7 separate regions of the Homo sapiens genome follow, and regions 1, 3, 4, 5, 6 and 7 are each linked to region 2. Evidence: promoter capture Hi-C in 16 types of primary human blood cells and fetal thymus (Javierre and others, 2016). All regions are on one chromosome and are shown on one strand. Each heading gives the region's core, a stretch centred on a gene start or on the middle of the fragment in contact. The rest is flanking DNA. Distances are from core to core; before and after follow the strand shown.

Region 1 (2,916 bases), core at 116-2,615, 250 kb before region 2:
TTGTATGTTGCTACAGTTGTTCCTTTTGACTCCTGTTTAACACTCCCATTGTGCAAATATGTAGCAGTTTATTCATCCTGAAACCATTCTTTACTGAAGTGCCTATAACATTCTTATTGATTTTCTCTTTTCTGGTTATTAACTGGTCTAATTCTGTTACATTCAAGCTTTGCATATGATTCTAGCAGTTTTCCAATATCCTTTTTAATGTCTGCATGAAGTCCTGAATCTTCTGCAAGACTTGCAATAATTTCTTGCAAACGACTTGCCTTGTGTTGTGTGTTGTCAGATATTTACAGTGGGCTACCAGAGAGAGGCTGACCAATAAAGATTTTGACTTGATGGGGTCTTGGTGCACACAGAGAGCCCTTCATTTCAGCAAGGAGGAATGTTGCAGGACTGAGGGAGGCAGAGAATGTCAATTCACTTGTGAATATTTTCTTGTCATGATGACTTTTGTTTCCCTGGGCAACCTGGCAAATGCGGGAACTTTGATTGTGAACACTCAGATACTCAGAAGTCCCTACATCTTGGCAAATTCTTTAACACTTCTCCCACAAAAGGTAGAATCTAATTCCTCTCCCCTTGAATATGGCCTTGGTGACTCACTTCTAAAGAATAGTGTCCAGGAAACGTGTTGCTATGGGACTTCTGAGGCTAGAATAAGAAAAGGTGATACAGCTTCCATCTGGCTTGCTCTTTTTGGGACACTCATTCTGGAGAAGCCAGTCATCAGGCTGTGAAGGAGCCCAAAGGAGCCCACACAGAGAGACCATGGAGAAGCCCACATGGATGGGCACTGAGGCCTCCAACTGACAGCCAAGAGCAATCGCCAGGCATCTGAGTGAGTCTTCTAGGAGAGGCTACAAAGTTTGAGGAGAAGTAGCAAGTCATCCTGGACATGCCCTGTCTAAATTCCCCACAATGTACAAAATTAAGCTAACTGTGCTCTGTCTGAAGTCCTCACCCACAGAATCCATTCACATAATAAATGGTTATCTTATGCTACTAAGTTTTGGGGTAATTTGTTATAGAAATTAATAAAATTAGTAAAAAAAAAAATAGTACTGGCACATCCAATTTAAAGATGAGCAAACTGAGACTTGGAGAGAATAAATTCACAGTAAATGGTGAAGCCAAGATTGAAGCCTGGGCATTTGACTTGCAAATTTGCGGATCTCAACCTTGATACCCTCCCTATAATGGCCTATTATTCCCTTGCATTTTCAGGATATCCTTGGTTACTCAGAACACAACTAATTAGCTTACTCTCCCACCCCAGGATTGAACCTGGGAGGGCAATGCTACCACCAAAAAAATACACATGCTCATACTCTAAAAATAACCCACTCAGAAAGGGTTAAACTGAGCTGCAGATTGGCAAATGATAAATGCTTAGTTCAGGGCCTAAAAAACAAAGAGTATTTAAAAATAAATGGCCAGGCACAGTGGCTCATGCCTGTAATCCTAGCACTCGTGGGAGGCAGAGGTGGGAGAATCACTTGAGCCCAGGAGTTCAAGACCAGCCTGGGCAACATAGTGAGACCATGTCTCTGTTTTTTTAAATTGTTTTTAAATTAAAAATAAAATAAACACTACACACTTTTTTCAGTTCAAACACGATGATGTTAAAGTGGGATGAAAGGATAAAAATCAGCTTTATTTTACAATGTTTTGTTATGGTAATGATTTTTTATTTATCTAGCTTTATTTTTCTAGTATGAATATTTTAAACTCTACATAAAGATATTGCTGTGGTTTGAATGTGTTTGACCCCTCCAAAATTCATGTGTTGAAACTTAATCCCCATAGTGGTGGTATTAAGAGATAGGGACTTTGGGGAAGGGATTAAGTCATGAGGGTTCCTTCAAAATGGGTTAGTGCTTTATAAAAGGACTAGAGGGAACTAGTTTAGGTCCCCTTGCCCTTCTACTTTCCTCCCTGTGAGGACACAGCAACAAGGCGTCATCTTGGAAGCAGAGAGCAGTCCTCACCAGACACTAATGCCAGTGCCTTGATCTTGGACTTTCCAGCCTCCAGAACCATAAGAAATACATTAGGCCAGGCGTGGTGGCTCACGCCTGTAATCCCAGCACTTTGGGAGGCCAAGGTGGACGGATCACAAGGTCAGGAGATCGAGACCATCCTGGCTAACATGGTGAAACCCCATCTCTACTAAAAAATAGAAAAAATTAGCCAGGCGTGGTGGCGGGTGCCTGTAGTCCCAGCTACTCAGGAGGCTGAGGCAGGAGAATGGCGTGAACCTGGGAGGCGGAGCTTGCAGTGAGCCGAGATGGCACCACTGCACTCTAGCCTGGGCGACAGAGCAAGACTCTGTCTCAAAAAAAAATAATAATAAAAGAAATACATTTGTATTCTTTATATATTACCCAGTCTGTGGTGTTCTGTTATAGCAGCATAAATGGTCTAAGACAGATATCTTTAATTTAAAACAATTTAAAATGTTGCCAACATTCCAAGATGGAATTGGAATCACTTCCAATTGTGTAGTATTTGAAGTAATATATCATTTCCAGAAATTTTCACAAGTAAAAAAAGCTTTGTTCTATCCCCAGCTACTTCTCATGATAATGTTTTTAGCTCATGGTTTAGACTATGACAGAGTTATCCAGCTGTCCTTCCACATTGCCAGCTTTAACCATTTTGCAGTTAAGAAGATACTGTGTTTTTTAAAAAGCCACACCAGCATAAGGGTAGCCAGTGGGATTTATTTAATGATCTGGGTTTATTAGGAATTCATGAAATAATTATATTTTCATAAATTTATTTTTATTAAAATTGTGCATGGGTGTGTAATATTAATATGTAAACCTTATAATAAAACCAGCATTTCTCTTTTCTTCCTTCCCTATCCCTATTCATACTTTTCACAGGTAACCACTTTCAGTTCTTCTA
Region 2 (3,323 bases), core at 756-3,255:
CTCATGATGGCACGTTTCTTTGAGCGGCTCATACATTTTTTATTGTGAGGATTCTTTTTTTCTTCCTCTTGGAGTCTCTGTGAGCCCTGAGTTGTAGAAATACAGCTATTGTGCAGTTTAACATTTGCTTCTGCTTGGTACCCTACGGGTCTAACTGGTTTAGCTGATCTATTTTTCCTTCAATTTCTTCACTTGGAGAAATTGTTCGATCATTTAGAAATACTTTACTGAACATGTACTATGTGCATAGTCCTATATCTGATGTTGTGGAAGATACAAAACAATGCAAGACAACACAAAGTTGCTGCTTCACATGAAACTACAGTTTGAAAGGGCCAAATACAGTATAGGCCCAAAGTTAGGTGACCATGTAAGGCAGAGTAAAAGGCTCAACGGTGAACAGCCAAGTTCAGAAAGAAAAACAGACAGTTGGAGAAAAATGGGGACGAAAAGCCCAAAGAAGGAAAAGGTTCCTGTGAGGAAGTTTCAGAAGGATGGGGAAGTAAATCATCCTCCCCTACCCCCACCCCCCACCCCCAAACTAAAACCTATCGCCTCTTCTGGGTAGAGAGTTAGTGTGGCACTAGGAACTTGACTTTGAGGTCCTTATTGAGAAAGCTAAATCAGAACCTAGGCAAAAGGAAGTCATTTAAGGTGCTCCTGGGGGATGTTTGATGAAAATTGTGTTTGATGGAGAAAACACAGCAAGTTGAAAGGGTTAGCAGGCTTTGCAAGTGATTTCACTAGGACAAGCCTGGGTTAGGGAGGCCAAGGTGAGGGAGAGAGGGAGTGTGGCATGCTTTGAACGTGGAAAGTACATAGTGTTCATTATCAGGAGTGGGAAGAGGGGAGGTAGCTTTTTAGGGGGTAAGGCAGGAAGGGAGTTAGAAAGGACAGACTGGGAAACCCGGACTAACAGTGGCAGGTGTCGATCTAAAGAAATTTCTCACAATGAACTGGCTATAGACTAAGTACAGACAAAGGGACCAGGTCTTCCATTGCTGTGTCCCTGCACACTCTAGGATCCGTTCAAACAGAAACTTTTATTGCGAACCCCCAAAACTAGCACGGTTCTGTTGTAGGTGTTGTTGCAGAGTGTCGGGCACGTTTACAAACAGGAACAGGGCACTTGCTGTCCTATCTTCCTCGCAGGGTTCTTGTGACGATTACACTTAAATCAACACGTATAAAGCATTTTAAAAAGTGCCTGTCACATAGTCCCTGCAATTTAAGGTCTAGTTGTGATTATTCACTTGTATTAACTAAGAATCAACTACAGGCGCCTAGCAGTGCCTGCATGTGCTCACACTGAGGCACTCACTAAAACCCTCAGGATCTAGTGAGGGAGACAGTCAAATACTTTAGAGCAAAACAAATTTTACAACCACGGACTCTGAGGAAGGCGTGCGAAGGCTCCACAGCTGGGGAGGGTGCCCACAGTCGCCGAGGGGACATCTGGATTTGCTCTGGTTGGGAGAGCATTCCTGGCAGAGGAGATGGAAAATGCGATCGGACAAAGAGGCTGGGACCGCGGAGGGGATCGGGCTCGGGGTCGGGGCTCGTCCTGCAGCAGGAGATTCAGCTCGCGCAGAGTTCCACGCAGGCCGCGGCGACTGGGATCTGGGCCGCAAAGGGGCGGGCAGAGAACTGCAGAGAAAACTCCCGAAGCCAGGGAGGTGGCTTGGAAGCGCCTCAGACCATATTGGGGACGTCTGGCAGCCAGAGGCGCCGAACCCCGCCCCCGCGTGCTCTGGGCATCCCGGGGGAGCGCCCCGGCCTGCGGCTGCCGCCACAGCTCCCGAGCCCGGGGCCCCGGCTGCCCGCCACCATTGACCCCCGGCCCGCAGCCCAGTGTCCTGCTAGGCCTCCAACCGGCCGGGGAGCCACATCCGGCGTGTCCCACCCGCCGCACCACGCTCCCGAGCTCCCCCGCGGCCTGGAGTGGTGCGCCCCGGCCCCGCCCCCTGACGCCGGTGAGGGGGCGTGGCCCCGTCACGTGACGGGGAGTGACCTCGCCGCCGGGCGCCATGGGAGCTTCGGACCCGGAAGTGGCGCCCTGGGCTCGCGGCGGTGCCGCGGGGATGGCGGGAGCCGGAGCTGGAGCCGGAGCTCGCGGCGGAGCGGCGGCGGGGGTCGAGGCTCGAGCTCGCGATCCACCGCCCGCGCACCGCGCACATCCTCGCCACCCTCGGCCTGCGGCTCAGCCCTCGGCCCGCAGGATGGATGGCGGGTCAGGGGGCCTGGGGTCTGGGGACAACGCCCCGACCACTGAGGCTCTTTTCGTGGCACTGGGCGCGGGCGTGACGGCGCTCAGCCATCCCCTGCTCTACGTGAAGCTGCTCATCCAGGTGGGGGACCAGAGGCGCCGTAGGGAGATGGGAGGCTGATGTGAAGGTGACAGGCCAGGATTTGGAGGATTGGGGCGGGCAGTCAATGGCGACGGATTTGGGGAGAGGGGTGGGGACGGCGGGTTTGGGGGGCCGAGTGGGTGGGATGGGAGGGAAGCCGTGAGGGAGTTGGGAACGCAGGGGTCACGGGTTTTAGGATACAGAAAGGAGACCAAGGGGTTAGAGTAATAACAGATACGGGAGAGGGTGGAAGGAACAAGCGATTTGGGGGAGTGCCAAGGAGGGAGCGATGGGCTGGAAAAACATATTTGGGAGATAAAGGAGTGGGGACGATGGACTTGGGATAGGGAAGGGAGCGAATTTGGGGCGAGGGAAGAAGCAATAGAATTGGGGGAGGGGCAAGAAGTTTGGGTGAAGAGATGGGGAGGAAGGTTGGGGGCCCAGGCAAAGTGTTTAGAGAATGAGGAGCACATAATTGGGGTAGAGGGGAACGGAGGCTCTGGATTTGATAGAGATGGATTTAAAACGTCTTGGGGTGGGGACAAAGTGGGCGCCAGGGCCAGAAATTTAGGAGGGAAAGAAGGACACCAGACTGGGGGTGGACAGAGGAGACGGAGGTCTTGGGTTGCATTGTGATTTAATTTGGTGGGAGAGTGCGAAGGCAAAGACTTTTGCAGGGGAATGCTATCGGTTTACCGGAGATGGGGGCTCTGGATTTGATGGCGACGACGGATTTGGTAGGAGGAGGGGACAGGGTGACGCGTATGGGGGGAGGGGAACAGATAGGGCCAGCATTGGGGGAGGGGAGTGGCAGCGATTTGTCTAGAGAGGGGAGCTAGGAGGAGGCTTTAAGCGGGGAAGGGGGATGACGCATTTGGAGGAGGAAATGGAAGTCATAGTTGGGGTCAGAGAGAGGAATCACAGTGCTTGTATCTGGGCAGATGAGGAGAAGGGGCACGGGAGTATTGAAATTGG
Region 3 (3,041 bases), core at 152-2,651, 210 kb after region 2:
TGTCTGAGCCTGAGTTTCCTTATCTGTAAAATGGGTATTAAAATGTCTGCCTACTCTACAGGACTGCATTGACGCTCACACGACACAACCTACACAACGAGGCTCTGTTGTGCCTAAAATACCAAATTCAGCATCTCATCCACAAATGTTTAGGGAACCCCTGTCATGTACCAGGCACTGTGCTAGATGCTGGGAAATCAGCAGGGTGCAGTCTTCACCCTTCACCCAACCTAGTGGTGTTTACATGCCAGTAGGGGAGGCAGACATTAATCCAATAATCACACAAGGAAACATGTAATTATACATTGTAGCAAGCGCCGAGAGAGCGAGTGGGGCCACCACCCAAAATGGGAGCTGTGAGACTGTGTTGGTTTCTGTTGAGTCAGGAGAACCCATCCCTGTCTCCTGGTGATTGCTGCAGCTCAGGTGGGTGAGGTGGTAGGGGGCTCATGGGCAGGGCTCTCTGGACAGCTAAGAAAGCTGGGCCTCTGGGCCACTCCGACAGGAGCACTGGGGTGTCGAAACAGACACCTGGGGTCAGGCGTGGTGGCTCACGCCTGTAATCCCAACACTTTGGGAGGCTGAGATGGGCTTGAATCCAGGAGTTCAAGACCAGCCCGCGTAACATAGTGAGACCCCCATCTTTACAAAAAAAAATTTAAAAATTTAAAACTAAATTTAAAAAAATTAAAACATTAAAAAAAATTATCTGGGTATAGTGGCGCACATCTGTGGACCCAGCTACTCAGGTGGCTGAGGCAAAAGGATCACGTGAGCCCAGGAGTTCAAGGCTGCAATGAGCTATGATTGCACCACTGCACTCCAGCTTGGGATGCTGTCTCAAGAAAAAAAAAAGAAAACCTTAAAGACAAAAAAGAAAACAAACAAACAAAACCAGACACCTTGGGGCAGCTGGGAGCCTGAAAAGGCATGTTGAGGGGATGATCAGCAGATGAATGGCCTCCAGGCACCCCTGTTACACTCCGAAGAAACCCCCAGGCTGCCAGTTTGAGACATGAGCTTGTTCTTTTTCCTGCCTCTTGGCTGGGACAGAAGAGCCACAGTCTGTTCCACAGGTGGTCACTGAGTGCCTCCTGTGTCCCAGCGTGGCGCCTCTAGCTGTGCGGATTTAAACGAACAGGGTCGCCTTCCCATCTTTAGGGAGACTGTGGTCTGACCACAGGCAGCACAGATGTGCACATGTATTTTAGACAGATAAATAAGTGCACAAAATAAGACTGGGAACAAAGACGGTCTTAGCGCTGCAGTCAAACAAGCCTCTGTTACACATCTAGCTGGCTCCTGGGGCTTCTAGAGTGGGTGAGGGGATGAGAGGACAGGCTGGTTGGAGCAGTGAGAGGACGGGCTGGTTGGAGCAGTGAGTTCTAAAGAAGGCCCAGGAAAGGCTGGAAAGTCAGGGGTGGAGGATCCTGGGGACAGGGGCACGGGAATAAAGGGAGATGGAAACAAAGTGAGAGGAAATTCAAGGTAGGGGGATGGGAGAGTATGGCAGTTAAAGTCTCACAGGGCAGAAGGAATTGGGGATCCCTGGCCCAACTGACCCCTCACAACCCTGTATCTCTAGAGAGGAGCTCCCAGGGTTGCAGGAGCCAGCTTTGTCAGGGACAGTGAAAGGGGCAGCAGGGCTCGGAGGCCTGGCTTCACCACTGGGCCGTTGGAGGAGGTGGGTATTTATTTGGTGGGAGGGGCAGGCTCCCACCTCCCACTCTGAGGCAGAGCCTAGCCTCATCTCGCTGCAGGATGGCCCTCCCCCATGTCCAGAAGCAGATCTTCCATAATGTGACTGACAGTAGTGTTAATCAAGGAGGCCAGGGATGTCACTCTGGCTCCAAGAACGATCAGGCCTATCCCCCCGCCCCCCAGCCCCAGTGTAACCCACGCACCCAACAGACACTCAGGAGGTGCCAGTATCAGAAGGCCCTCCAGGGTAGGCAGGGGAGGGCCCTGTGCAGGAAAATGGGGCCACTGTCCCCTCCTTCCAAGACACCTCTTGGAGCCTCACAGAACGTAGTTGATTTAATTCAGCAGCCGTGTCTTCCAAGCCAGTCAGGCCCCAGGCACTGTGTTGGGTGCTGTGGGGGCCTATTGACCCAAGCCTCCCTCTTAGGTTGCTCCCAGGCCAGTGGGGAGACAGACAGGTCATGATAATAGCAAAGACTCCTATAGCACTTAACCATGGGCCAGGCCCTGCTCTAAGTGCTTTATGTATAGGAACTAATTTAATCCCCCCAACAATTAGCTCATTGCAAAGAGGTGCTGATGCTAGCCACATTTTACAGGTAAGGAGACAGAGAGGCCCTGAGAGATTAAGTCACTTGCCCAGTGTCTTGCTGCCAGCCGGTGGTAGAACCAGGATGTGGACCCCGGCAGCCTGGCTCTAGATTCTGTGTTGTTAATCCCTATGCACTGTTGCCAGATAGCCAAGACATGGCATGACAGGGCTGTGACCAGGGTGCATCTGGGGGAGGCTTACTAATGAGCACCTTGCTCAGGGGTTAGGGGCAGTTCTGCTTTCTGATTAGAGGTAGGGAAGCTGCTTGGATTGGTTTTAGTCCTCAAAGCATTAACGTCCTTCTGGCTTTAATACCAAATAATTCAGAGGGGAGAGGAGAGGGGAACAGCAAGAAGGAAGAGGAAGACCCAAAAGGCCTTGGTACCTGCCTGGGTAAGGGAGTGAAAGAGGGGAAGGGATAATGGTTCAGCGTTTGAGGGCAGGAAAAGGTGGCACCACCGACAGAAATGGGCAGTGTGATCGGCAGCCAGATTCTTACTCACAGATTTGTGTTCCGCAGTTCTTTTCACAGCCTATCTGAAACCCATTTTTAAAAAAATTATCCTTCTTAAGTTATAAAGATTATGTTTGTTGTTTGAAAACGAGCTGCTGCTGTTGAGAGGTTGGGGAAAGAGAGGTAAACTTGGTTTCAGCCACATTGAGAGGAGGCAGCTGTGGACCAGGCACCGCTAAAGCAGGAGGGGACAGCAGTCTAGGGTCTCCAGGAGGGGGGTGGCCAGAGATCTGG
Region 4 (3,075 bases), core at 122-2,621, 170 kb after region 2:
GTGATGCAACCTGGTTTATGTTTCAGAAAGACAGCCCTGGCCACTGTGTGCAGAGTGGACTGCAGGGGAAAGGGCAGAAGCAGGAAGATAATTTGCAGTCTTGTGGAGGTTTTGGAATAAGACTGTGGTGGGCATGAACACAGGGGATCCAGTTCGTTCAATGCCAAGAGTTTAAATCTGAAAAGAAATAACCCTCTGCCTGCCTGGCCTTGAGCCCAATTTAGGATCCCTGGTGACCTGGCCTTGGTCATTCCACATAGACCATTATCTAAAGATACAAAGGAATGAGTGGACCATCAGCATTGCTAAGGCACAAAGCGGAAGGCAGGCCTCTCTAAGAGGTGGACTCCAAGGCAAGCTTGGGGTAGGCTTTCTGGACTCTCTCCTTTTTGCAGAGAAGTCTGCCTCTGCAAAGAGAGGTCCCTCCTGAGCCTTAGGTCACTTGGAAAGCCTTTAGTGGCCTTTGCTCTTGTCATGCAGCTGAATTTTCAGGGCTCTGACTCCCCGTGATCAGGGTTAGGCAGTCCAGGACCAAAGCTTTACTTTAGGGACTAGATGGGTCTATGGCCACCTACTCACAGTCTTAGGGTCAGGGCTTTAAAACCTGCTTTGACACAGTGAGGTGCTGTCTGGGATGTCCCTTTGAATCCTGACTTTGCCACTTTCCTTAACCTCTCTCTGAGCCTTAGTTTTTTTCATCAATAAAATGGGTTCCCAATGCCTGCTTAGTGGACTGTGGTAGGGACCACATGGCAGAATCACTTAGCAGTGCCTGCCTGTGCTCAGGACCTGTAAATATTCTTTTTATTATTAAACAGTACCATCAGGCAAGCTGTAAAGAGGCTCTATCCCTTTCCTTCCCCTCCTTAAATAAGAGGGTGACTGATATGCCTTCTACCCTGTACAGTCTCCACATCAGCAGCACCCCATTATCTCCCTTGGCCCTCACCACACCCAGATGAGGAAGCAGAGCTCAGAGGGATCCTGGCTTTGCCCAGCAACACAGCTAGGAAGTGGCAGAGCTGGGATGTGAATGTGGTTTTCCGAGTCGGAGTCCCTGGTCTTCTCCTCTGCCCAGGCCACTGACTTTCAAAGTGGGCTTTTCTTGTTTGTTTGTTTTTGAGACGGAGTCTCACTCTGTCGCCCAGGCTGGAGTGTGGTGACACAATCTCGGCTCACTGCAACCTCCACCTCCTGGGTCCAAGCAATTCTCCTGCCTCAGCCTCCCGAGTAACTAGGATTACAGGCATATGCCACCACCCCCAGCTAATTTTTGTATTTTTCGTAGAGATGGGGTTTCACCATGTTGGCCAGGCTGGTCTCAAATTCCTGAGCTCAGGAGATCCGCCCACCTCGGCCTCCCAAAGTGCTGGGATTACAGTCATGAGCCACTGCGCCCAGCCCAAAGTGTGCTTTTCTATCCCCAGGATTTGAGGGTGGCAGCTCCAGGATCCACCGTGAATATGTGTGTAGCCCCTGCCTCCCTTTCCTCCTTCAAGCAGAGGTGTTCATTATTTCTGTGTAATACATTAGACATGAGCCTGAGATTTCATTTGAAGAAAGGAGTTGGCTTTTCTAATAAACCCTGAGTTCTAGGCCAGGTCCCCTGGTGGCTGATAGATCTATTTGCTTTTCAGTGTTAGTGTCCAGGTGCACTCTACAGTTGTGGCTGAGCTGTTGAAAGTGTGCACTCCAAAGTCAAGTTTAAAAATGGGCCCACCACCTGCCCAGGTGGGGGATCTTGGCCAAGCACTTAGGCTCACAAGCCTACTGTGAGGAGTAAATAAGCTAATTCGTGTAAAGTGCCTGGCCTGCAGAAAAAGCTCAATAATGGCTCTTCTTATAAGAAGCCCTAAGTAAGAAACCAATGCTTTATCTGGAGGAAGGAACCATTGACAGTATCATTTCAGACATCGTGATGCCATTTGGCAGGAGCTATCGATGTTTTGGAGTGAGCTGGGGGACAAGTCCCAGGGCCCCCTCCATGATGCTTGGCTTCCTTTAGGGTGGGGACTGCTCAGGCCCCCCACCCTCTACAGTCAGACCCGGGGCTAGAAGGCTGGGGGTGGGGACAAGGTGGTGGAGAGTGTTTTGTTGGCAGCTTGGCAGCCAGGCTCATTGGTAAAGGGTCGTTCCCCGTTCCCCGAGGAGCTGGGATGATTGAACAGATTATCTGAAACAATGGCTAATTAGGAACTAAGCTTTTTGGCAGGAAGTCTTTCATTCTAAGCTTGGTAAAGTTTCATACCCTGACCCTGGTCTCTGGGCGAGATAGGGAGGCTTCTCTGACCAGGCTTGAGAACAGGGAGGCCTTTAGAGCCTGGGCTTCCCTAACTCAGGGCCCCTGTCTCCACCTCTGCCCTGCCTTACCTGGAAGCCTTAACAAAACAGGCAGCCATTTGGGAGGTCACCAGGCCTACGAAACGAAAGGTGCCAAGGTCATGGCTCACTCCCTGTAATTTTAGGCAAGCCCCATCTCTCTCTGGGCCTGGTTTTCCTCACTGCAACGAGGAGGGGTGGCCACAGAATTCTGGACTCCTTCAGTGACAGAACCAGAGAGAACTTTCCAGACCCAAGATGGTGCAGGCCTGGCATGGCCAGATCCTCCGTGCTCCTCCGCCTCCCCAGGCCCTCCTTTCCTGTCCCCAGATCTCAGGCCACTCTTCCCAGCCACTGGGCGCCCCCACCTGGCTCCTATTCCCAGGGCCAGCCTTGGAAAGCACATTCCCTTTTTCCGTTTCTATTTGAGTCAGGTAGCTTTCTGGCCTCTAATTTTAATCCTAGTGAACATGATTCATGAGGGGCCAGGGCTGGGCTCTGCAGCGAGGCTTTTAGAATCCCCAATTAAGGAGCCATCAATAATATATGAAAAGTATTGAGGGATCTACGGCTGGGGAAGGGTGAGCAGCTTGTGAGGTAGACAGCAGTCTGTCAGCTCCAGCCTCCTATCCCACCGGCACAGCCCCTGGGGGCTTTGCAGCTGGGGGATGGCTCCGAAGCTCAATCCAGCTGTAATTTGTAAAAAGGCAAGAGCTGCCTAAATCCAGGGCCATGAAGATTGTTCAGGCTTGCAGA
Region 5 (3,163 bases), core at 616-3,115, 220 kb before region 2:
CATCCAGTTAGGTTTCACCCCCACCGCCCCACTGGGACTGCTCTTGTCAAGGTGATCTCCACACTGCTCAAGCCGGTGGTCAGTTCTCCACCTTTGCTGACCTGTCCTGCAGTGGCTTTTGACTGCTGATCCCTCTCTCCTGCCAACAGGTTTCTCTGGTAGCCCCTCTGCCTCCGTCTCCATCCCTCCCCTGCCGCACTGGCCCCTTCTCCTCAGTCTCCTTTGCTGGCCTCTCCTCATCTTCCTGACCTCCAAACACCGGAGTGCCCTTGGCACAGTCCTTGGTCTTGTTCTCTGTCTCACTCACTCCCAGCTCACCTGGTCCAGACCCATCACTAATAAGCCCCATATACATCTTCAGCCTGGACTTCTCCCCTAAACCCTGGCTTTGTTTATGCAGTTGCTTCCTTGATGTGGTAGCCAGCTCTAACATGGTTCCCAGAGATCTCTGCGAACTGATATTCACATTCATCACCTCTTCTTAGATGTGGGCAGGACCCAGTGATCCTCTTCTAGCAAAGAGAACATAGCAAAAGCGATGGGTTGTCCTTTCTAAGGTTAGGTTACAGAAGACGATGACGTCAGTGCTGCCCGCTCTCTGAGGGAAGCTGGCTATCATGTTGAAAGTATCTTTATGGAAAGGCTCACACTGCCAGGAGCAGAGGTCACTAACCAAGAGCCCGTGAGGAACGGAATCCTACCAACAGCCCCATGAGGGAGCTTGGAAGCAGATCCTCCCCTACACAACTCTTTTTTTTTTTTTTAAATACAATATGGGGTCTCCCTATGTTGCCCAGGCTGGTCTTGAACTCCTGGCCTCAGGCTATCCTCCCACCTTGGCTTCCCAGAGTGCTGAGATTATAGGCATGAGCCACCATACCCAGTCAGGATATGTTTTGGGGTGGTTACTGTTGTAGAGACATTTTTGTAGAGATGTGACATGTACTAGTTATCTATTACTGCATAACAAATTACCCCAAAATTAGCAGCTTAAGACAGTACATTTATTCTGTCTTAGTTTCTGCGGTCAGGAGTCCAGACACAGCTCACCTGGTTCTCTGACTCAGATTCTCTCAGGGTCTCACTCAGGATGTCTCTACTTTTATTTGATTTTTAGAGACAGGGTTGCACTCTGTCACCCAGGCTGGAATGCAGTCGTGCAATCATAGCTCACTGGAGCCTTGAACTTCCAGGCTCAAGCGATCCTCCCACCTCAGCCTCCTGAGTAGCTGGGAATACAGGTGTGCCACCGCATCCAACTGATGTAAAAAAATTTTTTTTTTTAATTTTCTTAAAATGTGGGAATGTAGCCGGGCATGGTAGCTCACGCCTGTAATGACAGCACTTTGGGAGGCTGAGGCGGGTGGATCACCTGAGGTCAGGAGTTCAAGACCAGTCTGGCCAACATGGTGAAACCTCCTCTCTACTAAAAATACAAAAATTAACCGGGCATGGTAGCAGGTGCCTGTAATCCCAGTTACTCAGGAGGCTGAGGCAGGAGAATTGCTTGAACCTGGGAGGTGGAGGTTGCAGTGAGCTGAGATCGCGCCACTATACTGCAGCCTGGGCAACAAGAGCAAAACTCCATCTCAAATAAATAAATAAATAAATAAATAAATAAATAAAAATTGGGGAGTGTATCCCAATCCACACTCCTGATTTTCTCCCGTATACCTTGCCCTAACCCCCAGTCTTTGCCACCTCTACCCTTCCATTGCTCAAGTTAAAGACCCAGCAGGCATCCTTAGGTCCTCTCTTTCTCTCAGCCTGAATCTAACTCCTCACCACTCCCCATCAGCCCACCCTTCAATATAGATCCATATCCAACCACTTCATATAACCTCCCCTGCCACCTCCCTGGCCCAGGCCATCACCATCTCTTGCCCAGGCTATTGCAGTAGCAGTTCCTGACTGGCCTCCCCATGCCACTGTGTTCCCTTTACAGTCAGTTCTCCGCCCAGCCACCAGAGGGCTCCTGTTGAAACCTGAGTCAGATCAAGTCCCTCCTCTACTCCGGTCCTCACCTGCCAGGGCTCCCCACCACACTCAGGGTAGAAATCCCAAGTCTTTACCACGGCATGCCAGCTGCTAAATAACCCAGTCCCTTGTCACCCTCTGATCTGCTTTCTAACCATTTTGTTCTCTCCGCCTCCCTCTGCTGCAGCCATGCTGTCTTCCTTTCGTTCACCCTAACACAGACAGCACACTCCAGCCTCGGGGCCTTTGCACTCACTGTGCCTTCCGCCTAGAATATTCTTACTCCAGCTATTCACCAGCTTCCTTTCTTGCTCAGAAGGCATCAGAGAGGCCTTCCCTACCAATGGGTGTGAAACAGCCCCTCCCTACCATCCCATGTGTCTCTTTCCCACTTACTGTGCTACATTTCTTCATAACATGTACTATCACCTGACTTACTCTATACAGTTGCCTCTCCCACCACCCTCCAAAAATGTGGGCACCATATTTACTTCACTGATGTTTTCCCAGCACCTAGTTCAATGCCCAGCATGTAGCAGGTGCTTGATAAAGATTTGTGGAATGAATGGACATAGACTCTCAGTTTTGTTTTTGTTTTGGAGACAGAGTCTCTGTCGCCCAGGCTGAAGTGCAGTGGCACCATTGTGGCTTAGTGCAACCTCCGCCTCCTGAGTTCAAGCGATTCTCCTACCTCATCCACCTGAGTAGCTGGGACTACAGGTGCCCACCACCACTCTGGGCTAATTTTTGTATTTTTAGTAGAGATGGGGTTTCACCAAGTTGGCCAGGCTGGTCTTGAACTCCTGACCTCAGGTGATCTGCCCAAAGTGTTGAGATTACAGGCATGAGTCGCCACGCCCGGCCTATGAGAGGCAAATTATTACTGTTCTTTCAGCCTCCTGTTCCTACTCCTTTCTTCTCTCATTCAATTCTGCAGTCTCTGGTGAAGAATCTAGACACAGGTAGGAAAATACCGACAAAGGATACGATTTCAGCCCCTTATTCCTTTCCTCCTTTCCCAGTCCTGTTCCCTTACACCAACTGCTGCCACTAGAATCACCACCTCATCTCCCAGCTCCATCTCACCAAGTGGAAAACAAGTCTTTCTAACAGTGCAGGTGTCCCCGGGAAGAGCAACACTCTTAAGGGCTGTCACCCACCCCTGACACTTTCAGTCCGTGAAGAT
Region 6 (3,235 bases), core at 427-2,926, 230 kb after region 2:
AGACCACGGTAAAGATCAGCTGACGGCCTCTGTGGGAACAAAGACAGGGAAAGGGGAAATGAGTTCACCAGAAACCAACAGGCAGCACAGGAGGTATGAAAATTGCCTGGCTTTGTTTGATGGGACATTAGGGAAAAGTTGTGCCTAGACTTCCCTTATTAAAAACAAAACAAAGAAAAACTGGCGAGGGTCAAATGAGAATACAAATACAGTAAGTGCGGAAGTCTCGTGGGGGGCCTCAGGGCTGGGTGGCTCTCGTCACTTTGCCCAGTCTTGGCCTTGGCACTACTGGGATTTGGGACTGCATCACTCCCTGCCGTGGGAGGCTGTCTTGTGTACTGTAGGATGTTTAGCAGCATGCCTGGCCTCTACTCACCCCCTCAGTTGTGGAAACCAAAACCGTCTCCAGATGTTACCAAACGTTCCTGGGGGTAAAATCGCCCCTGGTTGAGACCGCTGAGTTAGCCACCAACAAGCCTTCTCTGAGCACCTACTCTGAGCCTAGCCCCATGATTTATCTGACACAGGTCTGGTTTGGAAGTTAAAGCTTACACTCAAAGAATAGCTAAAGAGGTTCTTGCTGCCAAGTAAGAGGGATGGTGATGGAGAGGGGAGCCTCAGAGGCCCTGGGCAGCCCTTGGGCTGGGTCCCAAAGGAGGAACAGGGGAGATTGGAATTGGCTGAGAGAGGAAGGGGGTGCATTTTTGGTGAGGGGAGCAGCCTCAACCAACACAAGGGACAGGTACAGATAGGGCCGCTTTGCAACATCAAGACTTCTTTGGCTATACTGGGTGGAGGGTGCGTGTGTTCCGGGGAACAGTGGGAGAGAAGGTTAAATAAATATTCCCGGTTGATCGTGGGACCCTGGGTCTGATGGGAGAACCCAGTTGTGTAACCCAGACTCAATACCAGTCTCCCACAAATCCTCCTTAAACCCTTCTCCCCTGGCCCCGTGGTCTTCACACCCCACACTCTAATGGGGCTGGGCTTGGACCACACCCATGGGTGGTTGGAAGCCCTCAAGACTCACCCTGACTGCCTGGAAGCATGCCTTACCTGGTAACTGGTTTTTCCTGCAGGTGGTAAACCCGAAAAAGAAAATGAAGAAAAAGAAATACGTGAATTCTGGCACAGTGAGTAGCCACCCCGGTCTCTGCAGCCGGGTGTAGACATTCTGAGCCCCAAGCTAGGTCTGGTATCAGGGAGGCCCGTGCGTCTGTGTGTGTGCAGGGGCTGAGCGTGGGAATCAGACATCCAAGAGAGATGGGGTGGGGAGGGGTGGGGCAGATGGAGCAACAGCCAGGGGAGAGAGTTGACTTGCAGACCACACAACAGGCGCTGGCTGTATCTAGCATGAGGAATCGCAGAGACATCCACGGGACTTCCTGCAGGAAGGAAGAGGAAGAGAAGTCGTATTTATTGGGCCCCTACCCTGGGAAATTCCCCACGTTGGTGCTTTTCACAGGTTGTTGCCCTGAGAGGCAGATATTATCATCCCCTAGTCATGAAAGAGGAAACCAAGGCTGCAAGCAGGAAAGTGACTCAGCCAAGGTCACACAGCTAGAAAGTGGTAGAGATGGGACTCAACATGACATCTCACTCCAGAGCTGGCAGCTGCTACGGGCGCTGCCCCTGCTTAACCGTGACCTTCCTGGGATGACACGCCGGCCTAGTGGCTTCTCGGGGCTGGTCTTGAGGACATTCATACGCTTCTTCAGCAAATACTTACTGAGTGCTACTGTGTGCCAGGCACTATTCTAGGCACATCAGATACAGCTGGAAACAAGACAGACCCAAATCCCTGGTGCTTATATTCTAGTGGGAGGAGACAGAGAAAAAAAAAAAACACACACACACACACACACATGCCTGTGTGTGTCAGTTGATTATGAGAGCTATGGAAAAAGTATAAAGGGTAAAGGGACAGGCAATGGAGGAAGTATTGAGGATACTGGGGAAAGGGAATTCCAGCATTCCTGCTGTAGAGAACAGCACATGCAAAGGCCCTGAGGTGGAGCTCACAGTGCATTTCTAGAACAAGCCACTTTCTCTGCAGTGCAAACACACCCAGATTCATCCTCTCTGTGTTCCTTCCTCACTCTAGAGGCCCATGGCTAGTGCAGCCAAGCCTGGTCATTTGAGTCAGGCAGACTGTATCTCCAGACCTAGAAGAGGTTTTCAGGAGCTCTGGGGTTCCTCTGAGAAGCCTCATTTTCTCCGTCTGTAAAGTAGGACTAATAAATCATCCCCACCTTGCCACTGCACAGGGCAGCTGTGACAGACACATGGGAGATGCAGGCTTGTGAACTGTAAAATTACTCTGCTCATTCAAAGGGGACTGAACACCACTTCTTTGATTGTAACTGCTTCACAGACTGGGGCTTGGAGTCATATTTCCTTTGTCCAAGGCTGCGGTGTTTCTTAGTGGAGAGGCTGTCAGCATTTGGGCAGGAAAATTCTTCATCTCACAGGATGTTTAGCACCCCTGGCTGCTGCCCATAGCTACCAGTAGAGCCCCAGTCATTATGAGAACCCCCAAAATTCTCCCACGCCTTCCTAAATTCCCCTAGGGAAGACAGCACCTTCCCCAGCTGGGAATAAAAAGGTTCAAAAACCACTGATCTCATCCAGCCTTCTTACTTTAGAGACGAAGAAACTGTGGCCTAGAGAGGGCATGCGATTTGTCCCAGGTCACACAGTGAGCTGGAGACAGAGCGGGCCTAGGCCCAGGTCTCTTGACTTTCCTTTTACTCCAGCATTTCCCCATCTTCATCGCGAAAAATCACCCGGGATGCAGAAAGCTTGCTGAAATACAGACGCCCAGGCCAGTTCCCTGGGATTCCACTTTAGGAGGCCCAGGAATCTGTGTTTAGTGCTTTTCATCCCTTACTTATGGTGTGCAGAATCCCCTGGGGATCTTGTGAAAATGCCAAGAATCTGCATTTCTGCATTTCTACCTGGCATCGAGGTGATGCTGACGCTCTGGTCTAGGGACACTACCCTTTGAATAGGGGAAAGTCTGCTTTCACCCTGCGAGCCCCTGGGTGAACCCATATGGTCAGGGCAGTTAGGGCATTGCTTCATCCTGGGGGTTGGAATGGGGAGTGGTCAACTGTGTCTGCAGATTAGACTTACGTGAAGAGCTAAAAAAAAAAAAAAAAAAGAAGATCTCTGAAACATTCATGTAGCCCCGGAAACTCGGCTATAATGGGTCTGGGCTGCAGGATGATCTAAG
Region 7 (2,980 bases), core at 170-2,669, 200 kb after region 2:
TATGTGACTGAATGATTAGGAAGCACAGACCGAGTGTTCAGCACCAGGTCATGGACAAAACACACGTGTCTGCTGAGGATCTGGATGCCACTGGAGTTCAGACAAGGGAGAGAATTCGGTTGCCCTGTGGAACAGAGCTGTTGCAGCTCCCAGAGCCTCCGTTTTCCACCTGCAGCTTGGCGCTGATAGGGTTGCTGTGAGGATTAAAGGAGTTCATGAATGTGAGTGTGTCTAACAGATGCCTAGGAAAGGGTGCATCTGAATTCCTTGAACCTAAATTCAGTGTTTCCCCAAGCTTCTAGCCCAGCTGGTGACTTTCTTCCTAGTTTATAACCAAATAAAGTCACATACATGAAAGCGCTTTGGAAATTCTAACGCTCTAGACAATGCTGGTGGCCGTTACTGGTCTAGCATTCCAGGGGTTGGTAAGCAGTCTTAGGTTGAATACCTATCAGGTGTTAAACCCTTCCTCTTCCTCCTTCTTCCCCAGTCCTCCCTACTCCTTCACCCAGGGATAGCAGCAGTTTTCTTGATTTAAGCTGTTCCAGCACCAGGGGTCTATGTCGGGGGCAGGGAGCGCCCTCCCTTCCTCCTGAGATTGTCAGCTCCTTTTCTTCTGGGGCATCTTTAGCTGAGTTCTGTCTCTCCCTAGAATCCTTGCAAGGAAAAGAGACTAATTCCCAGCATCTGGCTGAATTAAAATAATTACATCTGAACAGCTTTGCTTCGTCTTTCCAGCTCAGCATTCAGTGGGAGGATCAAAGGAAGAGGGTGGGGTCTGAGAGATGATTTTTCACCAGAGCAGGGCTTCCTGCTCAAATGAATACATTTTGCCGAAGTAGACAAACCCTCTCTTCATCCATGGGGATGACGTGGGCGGGTGGGAACCAGCAAAGGATGACAGTGGACTCCAGTGTGTCACCAGCATAGTTTGACAGGTTATAGAAAAGCCTTGTTCATCTGGAATTTAAATGTCAAAGAAGTTCCCACAATCAGAATTTGATCCAAATACTATCGAATGGTACTTGATGTTGACAGTCATGAGGTTGGTCTCCCGAAGGGCCTTCTGAATCACCCAAGGTTCAATTCTGCTCAGCAGTAAAACGATTGTTACTGCCTGTAATACAGCAGTAAAACGATTGTTACTGCCTGTAATACTGGCCAACATTGGTTTACCGAGACCCTCTTATTTAGTCTTATTTGATTCTGACTGCAAGGCTGGGGGGCTGGGTGGGTGTGAGTAACCCTGTTTTACGGATGCAGAGAAGTTAGTGGTCTGCCTAAGATTGCTGGGATTCTAGCTCAGGCCTTGGAACTCCTAATCCTCAGTCTTTCCCTCACCCCTGGAGCCTCGAGCCCTCACGGTACAGGGAACAGTCACCGACCTTCTGTCCCTTGTGGGGCTACTGCCCTCAGCAGGCAGGGTGGCTTTGAGCAGTGGAGGTTGGGGTTCACGCCTATAATCCCAGCACTTTGCGAGGCTGAGCAAGGCAGGAGAATAGCTTGAGCTCAGGAGTTCGAGACCAGCCTGGACATCATAGTGAGACCCCCCCCCGACCATCTCTACAAAAAAATTTTTTTAAATTAGCAGGGTGTGGTGGTGCACGCCTGTGGTCCCAGCTAATCAGGAGGCTGGGGTAGGAGGGTCACTTGAGCTTGGGAGGTCAAAGCTGCAGTGAACCATGATTGCACCAGTGCACTGAAGCCTGGGGAACAGAGTGAGACCCTGTCAAAAAAAAAAAAAAAAGAAAAGGTAGGGGTTGTTGTCAATACAGAGGGTTGGATAGCTCTTTGCCCTCCACTTCCCAGCCCCTTGGTTCCCCCTAGAGACCTGTCAGCCACCCAGACCTGCCTTGCTCTGGAGTCAGGACTTCCCGGCTCAGGATAGTACGTCTTTACCACCTCCTAGTCAGGTCCTTCCACCTGACTGGCCGTCCCAGCCAGGATGGTGGCGGTGGTCATGGAGGAGGCAGTGATGGAGGAAGAAGGGTGTGCCTCATCTCTCTCCTGCAAAGGGAGTTATAACTTCACACCATAACTGCCCCGGGGGCCTCCCCACCCCTTAGGTGTCACCAGCGTGCTCATGTATTCTTTCATTTCAGTTCAGGAAATATGCTTTGACTGAGTCCCTGCTGTCCCAGAATTTTTAATTTAGTATGAGAGATGGAAATGCCAACCGGCAATCACATGAGAGCAGTGGTCCTCAGCCCTGGCAGATCCAGCGCCTCTTCTTACAACAACTATTTTATCACACTCTTGACTATCCCGAAGGAAAATGTGTAGATACTATGTAATATGCCAATATATATAGACAGGTGGGAGAATGAACCCTTCCAGTTACCTGGGGAATATTGGTCCAAGCAGACAGAACAGCCAGTGCAAAGGCCCTGGGGCAGGAGTGATGGATGAGGAATCGGAAAGATGAGACTGTGGGTGGTGATGGTGGGAGTTGGGGCCAGATTGTGTGGGACCTCATAGCTGGGGAACTTAGCAGCCTGGATCCCAACACAATCAAAACTTTTGTTTTTCCAAAGATAAGCTTCAGGGAGAGGCCAGTTTCTCTACCTGAAAGATGAGGGAAGAAGGAAGAGCCATGGAGAAAGAGAGATGAGAAGGAAGAGTCAAAGTAAGTGGGGGAGGTGGTGAAGGTTCTCTGAGACTCGGAAGTATGCAGGTTGATACATAGGAGAGTCGTGTGTTGTGGCTGAGACCGATATGAGCATCCCGTGTAACCAGCATTCAAACATCACCCTTCTTAAGGTTAGTTTGAATTTTTTTGGTCTTAGAAATAATCTATCTGGCTTTTAAAAAGCCAAAACAAAGCAAAAGCATTTCTTCCTGATGCTAAAAAAAAATAACATATTCATTATGGACAAATTGGAAAATACAGAAAAATATAAACAGCATGGAAAAGTCACCCAGAGATAATCACTGTTGACATTTTGATGTGCTTCCTCCAAGGCTTTCTTGCTGAGTGTCC

Evidence for each region. The method cuts DNA at HindIII sites, captures the fragments that hold promoters and counts their contacts. A CHiCAGO score of 5 or more calls a contact.
Region 1: a contact is called between a fragment that was not itself captured here and the fragment with the promoter of MTCH1 in region 2, in 2 of 17 cell types (activated CD4 T cells and total CD8 T cells). The highest score is 6.0, in activated CD4 T cells.
Region 3: a contact is called between a fragment that was not itself captured here and the fragment with the promoter of MTCH1 in region 2, in 1 of 17 cell types (erythroblasts). The highest score is 5.1, in erythroblasts.
Region 4: a contact is called between a fragment that was not itself captured here and the fragment with the promoter of MTCH1 in region 2, in 1 of 17 cell types (megakaryocytes). The highest score is 5.5, in megakaryocytes.
Region 5: a fragment that was not itself captured here is called in contact with the fragment with the promoter of MTCH1 in region 2 in 16 of 17 cell types (naive CD8 T cells, megakaryocytes, fetal thymus and 13 more); the score reaches 12.1 in naive CD8 T cells.
Region 6: a contact is called between a fragment that was not itself captured here and the fragment with the promoter of MTCH1 in region 2, in 1 of 17 cell types (endothelial precursors). The highest score is 6.0, in endothelial precursors.
Region 7: a fragment that was not itself captured here is called in contact with the fragment with the promoter of MTCH1 in region 2 in 1 of 17 cell types (endothelial precursors); the score reaches 5.3 in endothelial precursors.

The regions. Positions count from the first base shown.
Region 1 is chr6:37,234,809-37,237,724 of GRCh38, reverse strand. All of the region lies in intron 1 of TMEM217B (transmembrane protein 217B), which reads left to right. The region is part of intron 1 of TMEM217 (transmembrane protein 217); the gene reads left to right. Among named protein-coding and RNA genes, the nearest start is that of TBC1D22B, 22 kb to the left of the region's middle. The HindIII fragment of the contact is 2,392 bases long and covers 170-2,561 here.
Region 2 is chr6:36,984,878-36,988,200 of GRCh38, reverse strand. MTCH1 (mitochondrial carrier 1) reads left to right here and starts at 2,005. Exons shown (of 12, transcript NM_001271641.2): 1 at 2,005-2,348. The coding sequence starts at 2,028. RefSeq lists enhancers at 1,401-1,610, 1,729-2,451 and a silencer at 1,701-2,290. The HindIII fragment of the contact is 16,171 bases long and covers 1-3,323 here.
Region 3 is chr6:36,770,671-36,773,711 of GRCh38, reverse strand. The region is part of intron 10 of CPNE5 (copine 5); the gene reads left to right. Among named protein-coding and RNA genes, the nearest start is that of CPNE5, 67 kb to the left of the region's middle. RefSeq lists an enhancer at 1,295-1,794. The HindIII fragment of the contact is 8,826 bases long and covers 1-3,041 here.
Region 4 is chr6:36,810,150-36,813,224 of GRCh38, reverse strand. The region is part of intron 3 of CPNE5 (copine 5); the gene reads left to right. Among named protein-coding and RNA genes, the nearest start is that of CPNE5, 28 kb to the left of the region's middle. RefSeq lists a silencer at 2,033-2,201. The HindIII fragment of the contact is 1,664 bases long and covers 540-2,203 here.
Region 5 is chr6:37,207,004-37,210,166 of GRCh38, reverse strand. No RefSeq gene overlaps it. Among named protein-coding and RNA genes, the nearest start is that of PIM1, 38 kb to the right of the region's middle. The HindIII fragment of the contact is 4,608 bases long and covers 1-3,163 here.
Region 6 is chr6:36,754,143-36,757,377 of GRCh38, reverse strand. It overlaps CPNE5 (copine 5), which reads left to right. Exons shown (of 21, transcript NM_020939.2): 13 at 1,080-1,133. Among named protein-coding and RNA genes, the nearest start is that of RAB44, 58 kb to the right of the region's middle. RefSeq lists an enhancer at 817-2,016. The HindIII fragment of the contact is 2,254 bases long and covers 550-2,803 here.
Region 7 is chr6:36,786,802-36,789,781 of GRCh38, reverse strand. All of the region lies in intron 8 of CPNE5 (copine 5), which reads left to right. Among named protein-coding and RNA genes, the nearest start is that of CPNE5, 51 kb to the left of the region's middle. The HindIII fragment of the contact is 2,244 bases long and covers 298-2,541 here.